Linked DNA regions of Homo sapiens: region 1 is linked to region 2. Evidence: promoter capture Hi-C in human tissues and cell types (Jung and others, 2019). All regions are on one chromosome and are shown on one strand. Each heading gives the region's core, a stretch centred on a gene start or on the middle of the fragment in contact. The rest is flanking DNA. Distances are from core to core; before and after follow the strand shown.

Region 1 (2,714 bases), core at 1-2,500, 80 kb after region 2:
ACTGCAGGGAATGGGAAGGAGTGGTTCTAGGTTCATTTGGACAGCATGGAGGGCAAAGAACGTGTGGTAAAAGCTTCTCTTCAGTCCCAAGAGGTGGGTCTCTGGCTCATCTTAGATGTTAATTTCTCCAAGAGAAGCATCTTTTAGAAAAATCCTTTTAGTTTCCTAAAGTCTTGATTCAAATTTCCTTATACCCCAATGAATTTCAGGATTCCACGGAGAGACCAAAGATGAACTACTATGACCATGCGGATTTCCACCACAGTGTAAAAAGTAAGTTACTAGAGTAGAGGAACCTTAGTAAGTGACTGAGGATAGGGAGAGTTGAACCTGTGTTGACCAGGATAGTTTACCTCCCTGAAGGCACAGTTCCTCTATCTCAGAGAAGTCCTAAAAACACCCCATTTTTCCTTTTCTGTCCTCCATTTGTTGTAGTTGAGAGGAGTTTACAGGTGCAATTAATGACTGCATCTTCTTTTAGGTCCTGAATTGTATGAAACAGAACCCACTAACAAGGACATTAGTGCTCCAGTGGACGCTGTGCCAGAAGCCCAGGCTGCCAGGCAAAAGAAGATCTCCTTTAACTTTTCAGAAATTATGGCTAGCACAGGCTGGAACTCTGAGCTCAAACTACTTAGGATTCTTCAGGACACTGATGATGAGGATGAGGAGGACCAGTCCTCTGGGGCAGAGTGAGAAGCCTCTGGAGGAATAGACTGAAGGCATCCCCTGGGGCAGCCGTGTTCCAAAGCGGGATGGCTGGTATCCTGAGGGCAGCAACGTTTCACATAAGGGCAAGAGGAGAGGGGCTTCTGCTCTCTGGAGCCTTTACCAGGGCCTGAGCTCTGAGCTTAGGGATTCCATTTTCTTTGTTCACCTCTACTTGCCTCTAAAATAAATGTAGGAGAAAAATCCCCAGCCTTTTTAAATTTAGATTATTTCCTTTCCATTAGGGTCAGAATAATTTTGGTGATTAAACACAACTGCTTTTCAATCAAAAGACTTATTTTCTGTTTCTAGGAGGAAGGGAAAGATGTTTCTTGGTATCTGTTTTCTGGGTCACTCTTATCTCTGAAGTTCTGAAAGGTTTCCAGTTGTAGGAGGCTGAATTTGGCTCATGGGAGCTGCCATGATGCTCCCTAGATTTTCCTCTCATTCCCTAGAAATGGTTTCTTTTGGAGATGGGATCTACATTGTTATCAAATAATGTTCATTGTGTCGCTGGTCTTAAGCTCCTAGGCTCAAGCAGTCCTCCCTCCTCAGCCTCCCAAAGTGCTGGGATTACAGGCATGAACCACTGTGCCCAGCCAAAAGCTCTAGTTTCTTTCTTTTTTTTTTTGAGATGGAGTTTTGTTCTTGTTGCCCAGGCTGGAGTGCAATGGCATGATCTCGGCTCACCGCAACCTCCGCCTCCTGGGTTCAAGCGATTCTCCTGCCTCAGCCTCCCGAGTAGCTGGGATTACAGGCATACGCCACCATGCCTGGCTAATTTTGTATTTTTAGTAGAGATGGGGGTTTCTCCATGTTGGTCAGGCTGGTCTCGAACTCCTGACCTCAGGTGAGCCACCCACTTCAGCCTCCCAAAGTGCCGTGATTGCAGGTGTGAGCCACCGCACCCGGCAAAAAGCTCTAGTTTCTAAGGAACTGAGTCTGCACAGGAAAGTTTCAGTGATGCTCATAAAGGCTCAGAATTTCAGAGTCTGAGAGAACTTCTAACTTGGTTTTGGAGGTTTTTTTTTTTTCATGTTTTAGTCCTTAAAAAGATATAATGTAAAAATTTCAAAATTACGTAAAAGGAAAGAGAATAATATAATGAAACTTTGATGTATTCAGTATCTTAGATCTGGGCAAGGAAGGCCCTTGGCCCCGTGCTTTAGAAAGTCCTCTGGTGTTCTGGCTGTGCTGCCCCTCACGGCAGAGAAATCTGCAGAGCCAAGTGGACGTACACCTAGCTGGAGTCTGTGACTCCCCTTTTAGACTTTGTTCCTGGTATTTGGAACCCTGGAATTCCCTGCCCAGTGGCCTCTTGCCTACTTCCATGGCTTCTGCAGGCCTCTTTTGTGGGTCCATCTCCCAAGAGTGGACTATCCCACCAGTGTGTGTGCTGCTGGGTTCAAGGGGGTAAGAGGAGGGTATTTGGAGAGGGATGTGCCCAGAGCTTGGACAGATAGACTGGGGTATCAGCATTTGTTGCCTTTCCCAGTAAGGATGGGATCATGGGGATGAGAAGTGAGGGCTGGTTCTTCTAGTGCTGCATGTTAGTGTGGAACCTCAAGGAATCTGTGGATTTTGAATGAACCTGGCTTTCTAGATCATGAAGGTATACTGGTCAAGGTAGCAAGTTAGAACATGTTTTATTTAACAATTTGTTAGCTTAATTTATAGTTTTTAAATGTTCAGACATGGTTAGTAGACCTGTTTTTGTACACTTATCCTGAGTCCTGCAAAACATTAGGACTGTCCAGAGCCATCATTTGGGACAAATTTTAAGGAGGAAGAATTTAACCCCACAATGTAGAGATCATTAATTTGCAGTCCCATTTTAAAGGTAAGGATAGCAAGGCTCAGAGAGGGGATTTGTCTTGACTGAGCTCATGAGCTGGGAAGTGGGGCTAAGCTGGAATCTGGGTCTCCTAGTGCTAGGTCAGAGCTCTTTTCATTATTCCAGTCTGCTGTTCTCTCACCTCATTCTCCAGAAACAATGGTAGGTTATT
Region 2 (2,700 bases), core at 201-2,700:
GGTTTAGCTCCCGCCTGTGTTCAGTTCTGATGCACTCAGAGTACTCTCTGACACCTGAAGGCCTGGGCCCTTCCCCTTTTGAGAGAGTGCCCAGCTTTCTGCCAAGACTCCTAAGAAAGAATTTGGGGTTGGTGGCCGGGCGCGGTGGCTCACACCTGTAATCCCAGCACTTTGGGAGGCTGAAGGGGGGAGATGGCTTGAGCCCAGGAGTTTGAGATCAGCCTGGGCAACATGGCAAAACCCTGTCTCTACGAAAAATACAAAACTTAGCTGGGCACGGTGGCATGTGCCTGTAGTCCCAGCTACTCAGGAGGCTGAGGTGGGAGGATCACTTGAGCTGGGGAGGTCGAGGCTGCAGTGAGCTATGATTACACCACTGCACTCCAGCCAGGGTGACACAGTGAGACCCTATCTCAAAAAAATAAAAAAAAATAAAAAAAAAAAAGAAGAAGAAGAATTTAGAGCTGGAGAGCAGCGTTCTCCTTGTATGCCCAGACAGACTAGACTGGATCCCCAGCAGAGGGCTCAATCTGGGCTCAGACTAATATATAAGATCCTGAGGGTGGGAAAAGCCCTAAACAGCTCAGGAACATGTTAGCAGTTTTTCTTTCTGGGGTGGGAGTGGGTGGATTTTTCTTCCACATGCTTATTTGCATATTTTGTTTTCTTCGAAATAAAAAGGCATTACTTTTTTTCAATGCTAGTTTAAAAAGAAAACTCAAATATTCAAATTCAAAAAGTTTGGATGTAAATACTTTGGGAAAATCAGCCTAATACAGATATTTCTCACTGGGCCTCAATGTTCAATTTAAAAAATTATTAATTATAGTAACCTTAAGTCACACTGCCTAGGTTCCAATCTCATAGCTACCAATTAGTAACTGTGACCCTTGGCAAGCCACTTAACTTCCATAAAAATGGGATCCTAATAGTACTTTCCTCGCACTGTTAGTAGACACTTAGCGATTGCAGCTGCTATGTTCCAGATATTGTTTTACGTATTTAGCGTATTTACTCCTCAGACGTCTGGGAGGCAGGTACTCTCACCCCATTTTACAGCTGGAGTTCCCACCCAGTGAGCAGCCAAACGGGATTTGAACCAGGCAGTTTCTCAGCAGAGCCTTGCTTGAAGCTAGGCATCTAAAGCTGCCTCTCAAAAAGGGCAGTGGTCGGGATTACATAACAGAACGCTTGCAAAGCTCTCAGCGAAAGCCTGGCACTTAATAAGTGCTCAATAAAGTTTCCTACGGTCACAGTAATATTTGGAGTTTTATGTTTGTTGTAGAACAAATACGCATACAATCGCGATTTCATTCAACAAGGAATTTAAAGAGACCTGCTGCCCCGGGCGGGATGGGAGCGCGGGTTGGGTGGGAGGAGGCGCAGCTGCGGGGCGCGCTGGCGCACCGGGAGGGCCGGGGGCGGGGTCAGCCAGGCCCCGCCCGCCGCCACCTGCGACAGGTGGAGCGCACGGGGCGGGCGCACGGCCATGTCCGCCGAGGGCGCGGAGCCGGGGCCGGGGTCCGGGTCCGGGCCCGGGCCGGGGCCACTCTGCCCCGAACACGGCCAGGCTCTGAGCTGGTTCTGCGGCTCCGAGCGACGGCCCGTGTGCGCCGCCTGCGCGGGGTTGGGCGGTCGCTGCCGGGGGCACCGCATCCGCCGGGCGGAGGAGCGCGCCGAGGAGCTGCGGGTGAGCGGGTGTGGGCGCCGGAAGGCGAGGGCTCCGGAGACCCCGGGCGCGCCTGGCGGGACCCGGCAGGGACTGGGGAGCCTGGGGCTGGGCGGACTCGACACCCGGCCCCGGAGCCTAGGCTCCTCGGTGGCTTTGGCTGTAGGACTAGGCGGTTAAGGGTGTGGCCTCTGAAGTCAGGCTGGCCTGAGTTCGAATCTACTCCCTGTGAGTCACGTAACTCTGAGCCTCAGTGTCTTCATCTGTAGTTTGGGGACAACAACAATAATAATAGCGCGTATTTATTAGAGTTGTGAGAAATAAATAAGATAGTGGGTAAAATGCTTAGCGATAAGGGGATCCAGGCTCCCCAGGCCCCTTCCATTGCTCTGTTGAGGAAGCTGGGGCTGGCATGAAAGGCTCAGCTGCTCCAGTTCTCAGCGCAGGGTGTGCCCCAGCTCCCGCCCCTGTGGAAACTGACACTGATAAAATCCAGCGCGACCGTATCCCTTAACCCCTGGACTCAAAGCCCCCCTCCTCCTTTCGCCTCTTCCCCCTGCTCCTAACCCCTTCTGGCTTCTGGTGCGGTGATCTCTTTTTCGCTTTCAGGATTGGCCTTGACTGTACTTCAGGCTGGTTTAAGGGCTTCAGCTGGATAAACGGTGGGGGTAGGGAGAATATCAGGGGATTCCCCTTCACCCAGGCTTTCTCGCCACCTCCACTTCCAGCTCGGCTCCAGGGTGGCCACCTCCTTGTCATCACCATTCTCCTGAGCTGCTGAGATTGGGAGAGTCGAAGTCACCTTGGGCTTCTCTGTGGCCCCTGGGGATTTCCTTGCAATTTGATTAAACAGCTTGTTTCTCCCAACCCGACTCTGCAGTTCACCCCTGCTGTGAAGCCTGAGGGCTCTGGCTGGGGACTTCGCCTACCCAGAGTGACCTGTAATAAACACATCTTATATAGGGTGCTGGGCTCGGGAGGGGTTCAGTTTTTCAGCAACACCCAAAAGCTCCTGGTTCGTCCTACCTGTT

What was found. Contacts are between HindIII fragments. The study calls those that stand out against the background at their distance.
Region 1: a contact is called between a fragment that was not itself captured here and the fragment with the promoter of BSPRY in region 2, in 2 of the 25 tissues and cell types used here (mesenchymal stem cells and spleen).

Annotation. Positions count from the first base shown.
Region 1 is chr9:113,428,691-113,431,404 of GRCh38, forward strand. C9orf43 (chromosome 9 open reading frame 43) reads left to right here. Exons shown (of 14, transcript NM_001278629.2): 13 at 210-273; 14 at 482-1,000. The coding sequence ends at 696. Among named protein-coding and RNA genes, the nearest start is that of C9orf43, 19 kb to the left of the region's middle. The HindIII fragment of the contact is 8,820 bases long and covers 1-2,714 here.
Region 2 is chr9:113,348,091-113,350,790 of GRCh38, forward strand. BSPRY (B-box and SPRY domain containing) reads left to right here and starts at 1,451. Exons shown (of 6, transcript NM_017688.3): 1 at 1,451-1,690. The coding sequence starts at 1,490. RefSeq lists silencers at 1,419-1,488, 1,519-1,798. The HindIII fragment of the contact is 5,403 bases long and covers 1-2,700 here.